Regions from separate parts of the Homo sapiens genome. Here region 1 is linked to region 2. The links are contacts of gene promoters, found by promoter capture Hi-C in blood cells and fetal thymus (Javierre and others, 2016). All regions are on one chromosome and are shown on one strand. The core of a region is centred on a gene start or on the middle of the fragment in contact, and the rest is flanking DNA. Distances in the headings are between cores, read along the strand shown.

The links. The method cuts DNA at HindIII sites, captures the fragments that hold promoters and counts their contacts. A CHiCAGO score of 5 or more calls a contact.
Region 1: a contact is called between the fragment with the promoter of ZNF549 here and a fragment that was not itself captured in region 2, in 1 of 17 cell types (activated CD4 T cells). The highest score is 5.3, in activated CD4 T cells.

The regions. Positions count from the first base shown.
Region 1 is chr19:57,525,235-57,531,951 of GRCh38, forward strand. It overlaps ZNF549 (zinc finger protein 549), which reads left to right and starts at 2,122. Exons shown (of 4, transcript NM_001199295.2): 1 at 2,122-2,372; 2 at 5,836-5,874. The coding sequence starts at 2,340. The HindIII fragment of the contact is 12,430 bases long and covers 1-5,049 here.
Region 2 is chr19:36,682,732-36,689,113 of GRCh38, forward strand. It overlaps ZNF567 (zinc finger protein 567), which reads left to right and starts at 4,881. Exons shown (of 6, transcript NM_001322917.1): 1 at 4,881-4,903. It overlaps ZNF567-DT (ZNF567 divergent transcript), which reads right to left and starts at 4,718. Exons shown (of 4, transcript NR_110708.1): 1 at 4,537-4,718; 2 at 3,955-4,075; 3 at 3,106-3,284; 4 at 2,708-2,780. RefSeq lists enhancers at 4,688-4,737, 5,298-5,937 and a silencer at 4,938-4,997. The HindIII fragment of the contact is 1,031 bases long and covers 3,331-4,361 here.

The DNA.
Region 1 (6,717 bases), core at 872-3,371, about 21 Mb after region 2:
GTGCAGCGGCTCTTGCCTGTAATCCCAGCATTTTGGGAGGCTGAGGTGGGCCGATCACCTGAGGTCGGGAGTTCGAGACCAGCCTGACCAGCATGGAGAAATCCCGTCTCTACTAAAAATACAAAATTAGCTGGGCGTGGTGGCACATGCCTGTAATCCCAGCTACTAGGGAGGCTGAGGCAGGAGAATCGCTTGAACCTGGGAGGTGGAGGTTGCAGTGAGCCGAGATCGTGCCATTGCACTCCAGCCTGGGCAACAAGGGCGAAACTCCATCTCAAAAAAAAAAAATAATAAAAAAATAAAAGGATCAGAAATAAATAATAGTGGAGACAAACGATTGTGATGCCCTACCTTGTTTTAACCTGATTGTCTCTCTCAGCTGAGAGAGCCAAACAGACTCCATTTTTGTTTCTTCACTTGCAGCCCCCTTATCCCCCTCCCTTAAGGACATAACTAGTGCAAGCTGACTCCAAGCACATCCAGGAATGCACTTACTGATAGACACTGAGGCACGCTGTACCAGCAGCTCCTAGGAACGCACTCAGTTAATGGTACCCAAAGCCCCTGCGTTTATCACTTTGTGATAATTAAGCCCCTGCACCTGGAACTGTTTATTTTCCTGTAAATGTTTGTGTAACCATTTATCTTTTAACTTTTTGCCTGTTCTGCTTCTGTAAAAATTGCTTCAGCTAAACTCCCCCTCCCCTATTTAGATCAAGGTATAAAAAGAAATCTAGCCCCTTCTTCGGGGCCAAGAATTTTGAGCTCTAGCTGTCTCTCGGTCGCTGGCAATAAAAGGACTCCAGAATTAGTCTCAGAGTGTGGCATTTCTCTATAACTCGCTCGGTTACAACACTATAGCCAAAGATTACATTCATAAAGATATTTTTACAATATAGGTGTCTTATTTAATATGACTCCAATCTAAATGGTAATTTTTCTAACCTTTCTTAAGTAATTATAAAATGTCAAAATTATAAACAATTAAAAACTAAAGAGAAATGAAGACAATGGATAGCAACAAAAGCTAATTGCTAAATATGGGGGAAAAAAGCCAGGCATGGTGGCTCATGCTTGTAATCCCAGCACTTTAAGGCAGGCGAATCACTTGAGGCCGGTTCTAGACCAGCCTGGCCAACATGGTGAAACCCTGTCTCTACTAAAAATACAAAAATTATCCGGGGGTGGTGGCGCATGCCTGTAGTCCCGGCTACTCGGGAGGCTGAGGCAGGAGAATCGCTTGAACCTGGGAGGTGGAGGTTACAGTGAGCAGAGATTGCACCACTGTACTCCAGTCTGGGCGACAGAGTGAGACTCTGTCAAAAAAAAAAAAGGAAAAAAAGAAAAGAAAAAGAAGATATAATGTTTCTGCAATCTCATTTCAGTTCCACTTATGATAATAGATACATTATGTAATTTAAGTCACTAACACTTGAGGGCAAAAAAACAGAATAAACACAAACGTGTGGGATAAGGGGATGCTGACCCCACTGTTAGTGATCACCTTGGTTGGAGACCCAGGTTTTATCATACAGATGAAGCCTGCAGGTAGCAAGTTTCAGAGAAATAGATTGTAAATGTTTCTTATCAGACTTAAGGTCTATGCTGATGTTATTGCTGTAGGGGTAGAATGAGGCATGTCCAACCCCTTCTTCCATAATGGCCTGAACTAGATTTTCAGGTTAACTCTATAATGCTGAGAGGAGGGGGTCCATTCAGATAGTTGGGAGGCCTTTGAATTTTATTTTTGGTTATAGTTTCTACATTAAAAAAAAGAAAAAAATTAAGGGTCGCGTCAATTCTCAATTGTCAACATTTTTAATGTATTGTATGCAATATATGTCAACTTTTGTGTTGAGAAATGAAGATCAAATCGTATTCTTTTATCCTGTGTATGTAATAGGCTTTGCTGACCCTAGTTTGATGGGTTTTTTCCTTTGTCCTCTCTTTCTTGGATTGAGTCCTCACAGCGCGGCGGACTGCGGCGTGGTAGGAACTACACCACCCAGAATACTGTGCGCCGAGCGTGCCGGGGCCTTAGACCAATCATTGCCCAGGAAAGGGGCACCTCCGTAAGTGCGCAATACGCCAGAATCTTCCGGCGTCTTTCCGGTGGTGGTCGTTTTTGCTGCCTGCGAGCGCGTCCGCGGGCTGGGCGTTTCCGGCTCGCTGGGTCCGGGCCAGGTAACTGGAGCCGGAAACCGGTGGAGGTGGTGTCCGCCCGCAGAGGAGCTTGCCTGGTCTCGGTCTGAGCGTCGCCCAGCGATTTGCCACCGCACGCACGCCGGATCCCGGGCTTTACCGCCCGCCTTTCCAGGCCCCGCCCCGCCTAAAGTCCCATGGCCGAGGCAGCGCTAGTGATTACGCCGCAGGTGAGAGCGGAGTCCTCGGATCCTCACCTGGGTCCTGAGGCCCCGGACTGGGGTCACCTGCGTGGGTCTCTGCAGTTCAGGCCTCTTCTCCAGGACAGCGAGGAGTTCTGGGTGGGGTCCTCAGAGCTGACGGGCGGTGAGGTGAAGAAGGGAGAGCGTTGCGTACCGTGGGGGCTGCACGCGCAGAGCCTGGGAGGTGCGCCGGGGTCGCGAGCATTCGGAAACTTGGGGGCGGACCTGTGTCTGCAGGGAGCAGAGAGAATGAGGAGAAGAAGGCACGGCTGCCATGGCAGCCTGAGCAACCGGGGTTTTTAATTCTGAGTCTTTGGGAGCCATGGAGGGTTGTGAACTAAAGGAGAACACGATCTGAGTGAGGGTCTGAAAAAATATTTCAAAGGCAATGAGTGGAGAAAACAGACTGTTACGGAGTGATGGGGGTGGACGCAGGGATACTGGTGAGGAGACTGCTGTAGTAGGCTCCAGGAGGATTATGGTGGATTCTGGACCAGACGGGTTGCTGAAGGGACCTAAGTAATAAGAATCTTGGTAGATCTTAAAGGTAAAGCCAGCAGGATTTTCTGCTCCATCATTTGTGCCTATGAGCAAAAGTGGGAGTGAAGTATGATCCCAAGTTTTTCTTTTACCTGAACATCTGGAAGAGTTGACAAAGAAATCTGGTGAGGGAGCAGGTTTCAGGGAAATAGTAGGAGTTGAATTTTGGACGTGGTGTTTCTAAATTGCCACAGAGTGAAGTTGTTACATGGGCAGTTGGAATCATAAGTAGAAAATTCATGGGAGGGGACTGACTCAGTGATGTGTAAATGGAGACAGGCTGGGGCGTAGACTCAAGCCAAGCCTTAAATTTAGACGGGAAATCTTAAGGTTTTACTTTGAGATGAAGAGAGGGAGGGCTGAGGCTGGAGGCTGGGAAAGTGTGGGTCGGCCTTGGCGAAGCTGCCTGCAGATAGGAGGGCCATGGGGTTCCGGGGGTACTTCCAAAGGGAATGTGTAAGGAATACACACTGCATAGGATGGATTTGAGGGTGGGACACTGTGTAGAGTCACCATTCAGAAGACTTGGCGAACTGTTCACTCTATGTGGAGCCAGAGAAAGGTCAGCCAGACTAGCAGAGAAGCCCAAGCCCAGCAAGAGCAGCTCTCCCAGGAAAATACAAGTTTAGACTGTATAGATTTAACAAATTAAATTTATGCAAGCAATTAGTTAACCGAATAAAATGTCACTATAACTCTGTGCTCTAATAAAAAATAAATGTTTGTTTTTTGTCATGCTTTCCTGGCACAGAATTCCTAAAATCGTTGTAATTTCCTCAGTGAAAAGTGTCTTGTGATAAGTCATGGACCGCATAACAACAGTGTTGACCACATCAGTGACGGTGGTCCCATAAGATTATGATACCATATTTTTACTGTACCTTTTCATTTTCTTTCTTTCTGATCAGGAGGCAAACTGCATTTTCTAAGTTTATAAATGTTTAAATGCACAAATAATTATCACTGTGTTACAGTTGCTGACAGTATTTAGTATAGTAACTTGCTGTACAGGTTTGTAGCCTAGGAGCAATAGGCTATACCATTTAGTAGTTGAACAATGAATGTCTGAACAGTAGTTCCCCCTTATCCTCAGAGGATACCTTTCAAGAACCCCAGCGGAGGCTTGAAACTGCAGATAGTACCCAACCTATATATACTATGTTTCTTCCTAGACTACATACCTGTAATAAAATCCAGTTTATAAATGAGGCAGTATAGGAGATGAACAATAATAACTGGAAATAATATAGAACAGTTATACTTTATAAGTTAATAAAAGTTAAGTAACTGCAGTTGAGACAATAAAAAAGCAAAAGTTAAATTATAAAAAACATGTGAATGTGGTATCTCTCTAAATATCTTACTGTACTATTCACCCTTGTGATGAAGAAGGGACTAAACTCGATAGAGTGAGATTTCCTCACACTACTTACAATGGTGCACTGTTGGCCAGCGCAGTGGCTCACACCTGTAATCCCAGCACTTTGGGAGGCTGAGGCAGGCAGATCACAAGGTCAGGAGATCGAGACCATCCTGGCTAACATGGTGAAACCCCGTCTCTACTAAAAATACAAAAAATTAGCCAGGTGTGGTAGTGGGCGCCCGTAGTCCCAGCTACTCCGGAGGCTGAGGCAGGAGAATGGTGTGAAGCTGGGAGGCAGAGCTTGCAGTGAGCCGAGATTGCACCACTACACTCCAGCCTGGGCGACAGAGCGAGGCTCCGTCTCCAAAAATAAATAAATAAAATAAATAAATAAATAAATAAATAAAGGATGGTGCACTATTTAAAACATGAATTGTTTATTTCTGGAATTTTAATATTACTATTTTCAGACTGAAGTTGAAATTTAATACTTATAATTTTCACACTGAAGTTGAGTGTGGGTAACTGAAACTGCAAATAGCAAAACAGCTGATAAGGGAAGACTTCTATACTTGAGTTTTATGAGATGGCTTAGGGTGAGCAGACAAGGTGGAGTCTCTAGATAGCCTCAGAGTGGAGTCAGTCACCAGAAAAATCAAGTGATTATAGAATTTGAACTTTGAGCCCCACCTCTGGCATCCAGGGAGGGGAGCAGAGATCTGGAGATTAGGTTATATAAAATCTTGAACAATGAGTTCTAGAAGCTTCAAGGTTGTGAACACTTGGAAGTGCTGGGAGAGTGACGTAAGAGAGCGTGGAAGTACTCTGCCTTACCCCCTCTCCCAGTACCTTGCCATATGCATCGCTTCCATTTGGCTGTTCCTGAGTTACATCCATTATCATAAACTGGTAAACATAAGTAAAATATTTTCCTGAGTTCTGTAAGTGGTTCTAGCAAATTATTGAACGTAAGGAGAGAGGTCATGGCAGCCCCCAAATGTGTAGCCAAGTGGAGAAAATTACAGTGGTCTGGACATTGGCTTGCAATTGCCATATGAAGTGAGGGCAGTTTTGTACGACTGAGCCCTTAAACCTGTTGGTTTAGCTGCAACTCCAGGTAGTTAGTGTTAGAATAGGATTGAATTGTAGGACACCTAGTTGGTATCAGAATCAGAGAATGGTGTGGGAAAAGACACTACATATTTATTATCAAAGAAGCACAGAAGCCTCTCATAATTTGAAAAGATACCACATTCACATAAAGACTTAAATGGCAAGTAAGAAACACCAGAGTTTTAAAAAATGTTTACAGAAATCTTAATGCAATAGTCAGTACTAGCTAAATCTTAGCATTGGACACGTATGAATGAGTTTGATGCCTACGATGGCACTACGAGATAGCCACCATTAAGTGTTTCCATTTTACAGATGAAGGCAACCTCAGAGAGGTTAGGTCTTTGTCTAGTGTCACACAGTTGGCAAGAGCAACTTACCCTTTGTAAATGCCACCTTGAACACCTGTATTTCATAGCCTCCCTCTTCCTACAGATTCCCATGGTAACAGAAGAGTTTGTGAAACCATCACAGGTAAGTGGAAGAAGTCCCAGGTCTTCACTGGCCCTGTTCCCTAAAGCCATGGGTCTGGCCCACAGATGCAGGTAACAATAATGTCCTGGGACTCTTTTTCCTTCATCTTGGGTCCCTGGGGCCACCTCAGGCCCAGGATGATTAATCAGGGTCAGGAGTTATACAGAGATGTTCCCATTTCTGCATCCAATAGGATGAAGTGATGAAAGGTTTCCTGGGCATAGGCGCCAGCATGTCCAAATGCTTAGAGATGAGAATGATATGGGCATATATAGGGAACTGCAAGTCTGTGCACTGTGGCCAAAACTTTTGCAGTTTGAGCTGTGACAGAACTAACATGAGTTTCTTTTTCCTTCTTTACAATCTCACAGATACATGATTTGTCCTTTTCGTAGATCTTAGCAAACTCAGAGTACAATATTTTTTTTCTTGTTAAGAACTCTCACCTTTTCACTTAAAGGAAGTACTTCACAGGTTGTCTTTTACATATCTGAATGGCTGGTATTATCGCTCTTGTGCTTTGGGGGTATTAAGTAAAATAAGCGTTACTTGAACACAAGCACTGTGATAATGAGACAGTTGATATGATAACCAAGATGGCCACATAGTGATTAACAGGCAGGTAGTGTATTCATCATGGATCTATTGGACAAACGGATGATTCACGTCTTGGGCAGAACAGCGTGGGACAGTGTAAGATTTTATCACACTACTCAGAGAAGCACGTCATTTATAATTTTTGGGTTGTTTATTTCTGGAATTATCCATGTAATATTTTCAGACCACAGTTAACCAGTAGTAAGTGAAACCATGGAAAACAAAATTGTGGCTAAGATCGGGGAC
Region 2 (6,382 bases), core at 2,596-5,095:
CGAGTAGCTGGGACTACAGGTGCCCTCCACCACGCCCAGCTAATTTTTTGTATTTTTAGTAGAGACAGGGTTTCACCATGTTAGCCAGGATGGTCTCAATCTCCTGACCTCGTGATCCGCCCATGTCAGCCTCCCAAAGTGCTGGGATTACAGGCGTGAGCCACCACACCCAGCTGGGTTTATTTTTTTAAAAAGCCAGCACGCTATAATTTTAAAATTTGTGCTTCCTCTCTCTCTCTTTGTGTGTGTGTGTGTCTGTGTGTGTGTGATTTCATGTGTTCATTTCTTTTACTCACTTTTTCTATCGGGTTTTTGGGTCTTTCCCTCGATTTTAAGAGTTTTTTGTTTTTGTTTTTTTGAGGCATGGTCTCACTCCAACGCTCAGGTTGGAGTGCATTGGCACAATCACGGCTCACTACAGCCTCAATATCCTTGGGCTCAGGTGATCCTCCCATCTCAGCCTCCCAAGTAGCTAGGACTACAGGTGCACCACCACACCCAGCTAATTTTTTGTATTTTTAGTAGATACGGGGTTTCACCATATTGCCCAGGCTGGTCTCAAACTCCTGGGCTCAAGTGTTCCACCCGTCTCAGCCTCCGAAAGTGCTGGGATTACAGGGGTGAGCTATACACCCTCAAAATAAATGGCATATCTGCATTTTTAAATCACATTTTTCTACCTACAAAACCAATTTTCTTTCAGTTCTGGTTTTTGTTTCTGAAGCCCATATTTTATTACACTGAATGAAACCTGTGCATGGGTAATTCATTTAAATAAATATAATTTCTACTGGATTGGTGGATTTAAAAGACTAATGATGGCCAGGTGCAATGGCTCACGCCTGTAATCCCAGCACTTTGGGAGGCCAAGGCAGACGGATCACAAGGTCAGGAGATGGAGACCATCCTGGCCAACATGGTGAAACCCCGTCTCTACTAAAAACCAAAAATTAGCCATGCGTGGTGACATGCGCCTTGTAGTCCCAGCTACTTGGGAGGCTGAGGTGGGGGAATTGCTGGAACCTTGGAGGCGGGGGTTGCAGTAAGCCGAGATCATGCCACTGCACTCTAGCCTGGCAACAAGAGTGAGACTCTGTCTCAAATAATAATAATAATAAAATAAAATAATAATAAAAGACTAATGATACCATATAGTAGCGAATAGACATTCTCATAGTATGTTGAATATTGGTGCAAACTTAATCAGGGCAATTGATATAGATGTGTAAACAGGTTTTAACTATGAAAACCTCATTCTCAGCAAAATATCTAAGACTATCCAAAATATACAATTCACATGTGCACAGAAAAGGCATATGCAGTAAAACATTGCATATAATGGGAAAAAGCTGGAAAGAACTTACATATACAAACAGAACAGTGCAGCCATTAAAAGATTATGACACAGTTCATAATTTAGTGACATGAAAATTTGTTCACTATATTTTGTTAGAAGAAACAAGTAGATTTCAAAACAATTGTTATATAACCCTGTTTTGAATGAAAAAGTCCTATAAGCCTATATCCATGCACTTATTCACAAATGAGGTGAAGTGATTTGGAATAAAGTGTTCAAAGTGCTTTACTTTAAGCTTTTTTTAATATTCTCCAATCTTCTGAATTAAGAATCTACTAATTTTACAATGAGAGAAATCTGCTTTGAGAGCAGAAAAAATAATAATAAAAGGAGATATGTGTATGATACATGGAATGCAATGTTGAAATGGTCTGAATTCTGGCTGAAGAGACCCAAACTTTCTTCATAGACATTCCAGAGCACTAATTCAAATACTGCCTTAAAGGTCCTAAATCTAGAATCCTAAGATTTTATACACAACGAGTTCCTCTTATCAGTTGCCTCTCATTTACCTGGGCACAGAACTGCTGTTAACCAACCTCTTCACGAACTATTGCTCCAAGAAGGAAATCACATCTGGTTTGGACATAAATTAATAGGGTAATTAATAATAAACCCTTCACATAGGCAAAGAAATGGAATTTTGGTCTGATGTGGCTATGGAGAATTGAGACCATTCCTTAATCATCAAGCAGAAAGAAGTCAAGAAAGTATTCTGAAGGATTAGGATGATAACACTTTAGAAATAACACAGGAGAGACGCCCATTTCCAACTCTAGGAATCTTAAACCAGTCCTTCAGAAAGTTACCTAAGAACCCTGAAGTTTCCCTAATCAATCAGGGTGAAGAAAGTAAGATGTTCCCAGAATACAGAATTTGAACTGGAAAGGGGAAAACAGATGTAAAAAGGGAGACCCGGCTGGCCGAGGTGGCTCATGCCTGTAATCCCAACACTTTGGGAGACTGAGGCAGGCAGATCACGTGAGGTCAGGAGTTTGAGACCAGCCTGGCCAACTTGGCGAAACCCCATGTCTACTAAAAATACAAAAATTATCCGGACATGGTGGTGGGCACCTGTAGTCTCAGCTACTCGGAAGGCTGAGGCAGGAGAATCCCTTGAACCTGGGAGGCGGAGGTTGCAGTAAGTCGAGATCACGCCACTGCACTCCAGCCTGGGCGACAGAGCAAGACTCGGTCTCAAAACAAAAAAAGGGGAGACCAAATTGGCTAGTTAAATAAATGTATGTAGGTGTTATATCACACCCCTGAATAATTCCTCCGAATCGGGGTGGGGGTGTCAGTCATCTGTACTCCACCCAGAAGTCAATGCCACATTCCTGAGTCTACATACCCGTGAAATGATAGGAACCCATGTGCCCATAAGGTCCTGGAGGGGAATGCAAAGTTGGTCAAGACATGGGAGCTAGACAGCAAGGAAAAGGAATTGCAAAGGGAAGTTAGTAGTTAAATAAGTTACCACATATCCATGTAATATAATACTAAGATAGACAAATGCAAAGTTGTAGAAAATAGTTAAGGAATATTTTCAAGATACTGTATCAGAGAAATCACTTTACAAAACAGGTTGAACAATACAATTATATCAATATGGTCATTTAAAAAGTCTAGAAAGTTAAACACCTGTTTCAGTTATTTATTGCTATATAACCACCTCAAAAGTTTATGGCTTAAAACAAAAAACAATTAGCTTATTATTTGGGGGGCTTGGCAATTTGGGCTTGGCTTGCCTGAGTGGTTCTTCTGCTGATCATATTCATGTGACAGCTGTCAGCTGTTGGCCTGGTGGAGGCTGGATGGTTCAAGATGGTCTCCCTGAAATTTCTGGCCGTTGTTGCTCACTGGACCTCTCTCTCCAAGTGATCTTTAATGCGCAAGCAAGTTGCTCTTAGCCTTCAGTCATGGTGGTCTCAGGGCAGGAAAAGGGGAAGAGAAAAAGCTGCAAGACTTCCTGAAGCTTTGTCTCAGAAGTCTCACAATATCACTTCCACCACATTCTATTGGTCAAAGCACCTCACAAGGCCCTGCCTAATAGTAACCTAACCACTGACTAGCATTTCAGGAGGAGAAAAAATACTCCCTTGCTGAAAAACAAAATCAAAGAGAACAAAAATAGAAAATACAACAAAACTTCCTTGACCTTGGTTTTCAGATATGCTCAGCAATGGTTCCCTTTCCTCAGGGCTCTTAGAGAACCTCAAGGCAAGGGAGAAGGGGTAAGGAATCATGAGACATCAGACCTTTCTTGGAACCCAGATTGGCTAAATTGGAAAAAATTATTGCCACCACACGAGCTCTCATCATCTACCATAAACATACTCAGATGGAAGTAAAAGGGAGATGGGAGTACTGCTAACCCTTCTTAGTATTCAAGGGAAAGGCCAGGGTCACTGATATCCAGGACTGGGGACTTTCTCAAAATTCACGTTAAGTCTCCTGCGGAGACAGCTCTGGGAATGATGTGGATCACATGGAACCTGACCTCTGAGAGTTCCCAAGGGAGAGCCTCTGAGGAAGGAATCCTACTCCTAGGTTCTCCCCACGACGTCTTCCCAGAACTCTGCTTAAGGGACACTTACAACTCGAAAAGCCTCGTTCCGAAAACAGGTCTGTCCTTTTTCTGTTTGCAGATTTTATTCCACCACTCGATTATCCCTTCCCTTTTTGATGGCCATTTCACTGCAGCTGGGGTCTATACAGCTATAAAGCGGGAGAAAAAAGGAAGCTGGGAACTCAGAGATGCAGAGCCCAAGAAACAATCGAGTCTAAAACTGCCGCTTAGGTGGGCACTCCGCCAGGATCCCCTGTGTCAAACACCAGGCTGAGAACTGGGGACAGGTGTGCCCTGAGAAGACAACGCGGGCCATGCTTCATTGCAAGATGACTCTGCTTAACATAGGCATGGATCATAGTCCTCACAGGCACATTGGGGAGATCTTCGACAGACCCCTCAGTCCCAACATTAAACACAGCACTGCAGAAATGAAGCTTTACCCGTTACACACACAACACCACAGACCTAAAAGGCTCTTCCATCACACGGCCACAGCAGCACTGTCATGATGGAAGGTCTCAAACCCTACAGTGTCACACACCCGACAGCCGACCACGGCCACCCAAAGGTCCCGCATCCGAGCAGGGACAGGAACACAATCACGCACCTGTCGCAGCCTCCTCGCCGCGCACACCGCCGCCTTGTCCTGGCATCAAACACACACGCACAGGTGCATACACAGGCCCGAGCTACGGCCCTGCACACCCTGTCTGCGTCCCGGGAGCTCGGGGCTTCCTCACCGTGAGCGCCGCCCTCATCCCAGCCACGCACTATGAGAATTTGGAAGGGGAACCAGAGATCAAAGTTCGAAAACCGCCCGGGCGCCTGTGGGAAATGTAGTCCAAGGCCGGAAACGCCCGGATGTGGAGAAGGCGCGCGTAGCCGGTGGACAGCAGGAACGCGCCGCGGAGACACCTGGGAGGCATCGTCCGCGTGGGAGTGCGCATGCGCAGACGCCCGGCCGGCAACCGAAGGTGAGGCTGGTGGGTCCCGCGGGCGCGGAGAAGGCGGGTGACGGTGTGACCCGTAAGGAAGGCTGAGGAGGGAGGCGGGAGCCTGGGCTGGGGAAAGCAAGAAGGGAAGAGGAGCAACCTGGGACGAGGAGTTGGCTGGAGGAAAGTGCGAGTCCGGGCCTCAGAGAAGGCTGGGAGGGAAGCAGGAACCAGAGCGCGGGCCCGGGAGCACCTGAAGAAGGGAACCGGTTGCCCGAGGCGGGGGGTGAGCTCCCCAGTGGCAGGAATTTCGTCTGATTTTCGTCCCCTGGCTCCTGGAGCACGGCCTGGCACACAACAGGCGCTCCGTGTGTGTGTGTGTGGCTTTTCGTACCTGTCCTGTGTGTTGTGGTAGGGGAATGTGTTATTCTGTGTGACGTTGTGGAACCGGTTGTTTATGAAAGTGATAGGGTCCCTGCGTGTCTTAAGTTTTAATTTAAATTAGATGCGAGTCGATTTGTGTTTGAGCCTGTGTCCGACTCTGGAGAGGCGACAGTGAGGGCATTGTGAGTGAAAGGTTGTTACTTTTTGTAGAAGTTCTGTGAAATTGTGCACGACGTGGGGGCCTATGGGATTATGACTATGTAGTGGGTGATACAGCTATGAATATGCCTAATTTTAAAAGTATTTGGTGTACACGACCTATGATGACTGTGAATGTGGCACACTGTGTGACTTAGGTGGAGTGCTTGAGAAACCGAGTGTTGACTAAAGTATGCATTGTTTAGATTGATTTATGAGTATTGGGCATTTTATATATGCCTGTAGAATTTGACTCTGGTAATTAGACAAGTAAAATAAGTAGTGATTTTTTTTTTTTAATGGAGAGGAAGAGGCAAAATAATTTTCAGAGGGTAAGATTGGGCCCATGCGGGCCGGGCGCGGTGGCTCACGCCTGTAATCCCAGCACTTTGGAAGGCTGAGGCGGGCCGATCACGACGTCAGGAGATCGAGAACATCCTGGTTAACATGGTGAAACCCCGTCTCTACTAAAAATACAAAAAATTAACCGGGCGTGGTGGCGGGCGCCTGTAGTCCCAGCTACTTGGGAGGCTGAGTCAGGAGAATGGCGTGAACCCGGGAGGCGGAGCTTGCAGTGAGCCGAGATCGTGCCACTGCAATCCAGCCTGGGTGGCAGAGCAAGACTCCGTCTCAAAAAAAAAAAAAAGATTGGGCCCATGCGCGGTGGCTCACGCCTGCAATCCCAGCACTTTGGGAGGCTGGGGCGGACAGATCACCTGAGGTCAGGAGTTTGACCAGCATGGTGAAACCCCGTCTCTACTAAAAAATATAAAAATTAGCTGGGCATGATGGCGCATGCCTGTAGCCCCAGCTACTCGGGAGCTGAGGCAGGGGAATCGCTTGAACTCGGAGGTGGAAGTTGCAGTGAGCCAAGATCGCGCCACTGCACTCCAGCCTGGGCGACAGAACGAGACTCCGTCCCTTCCCTTCCAAAAAAGA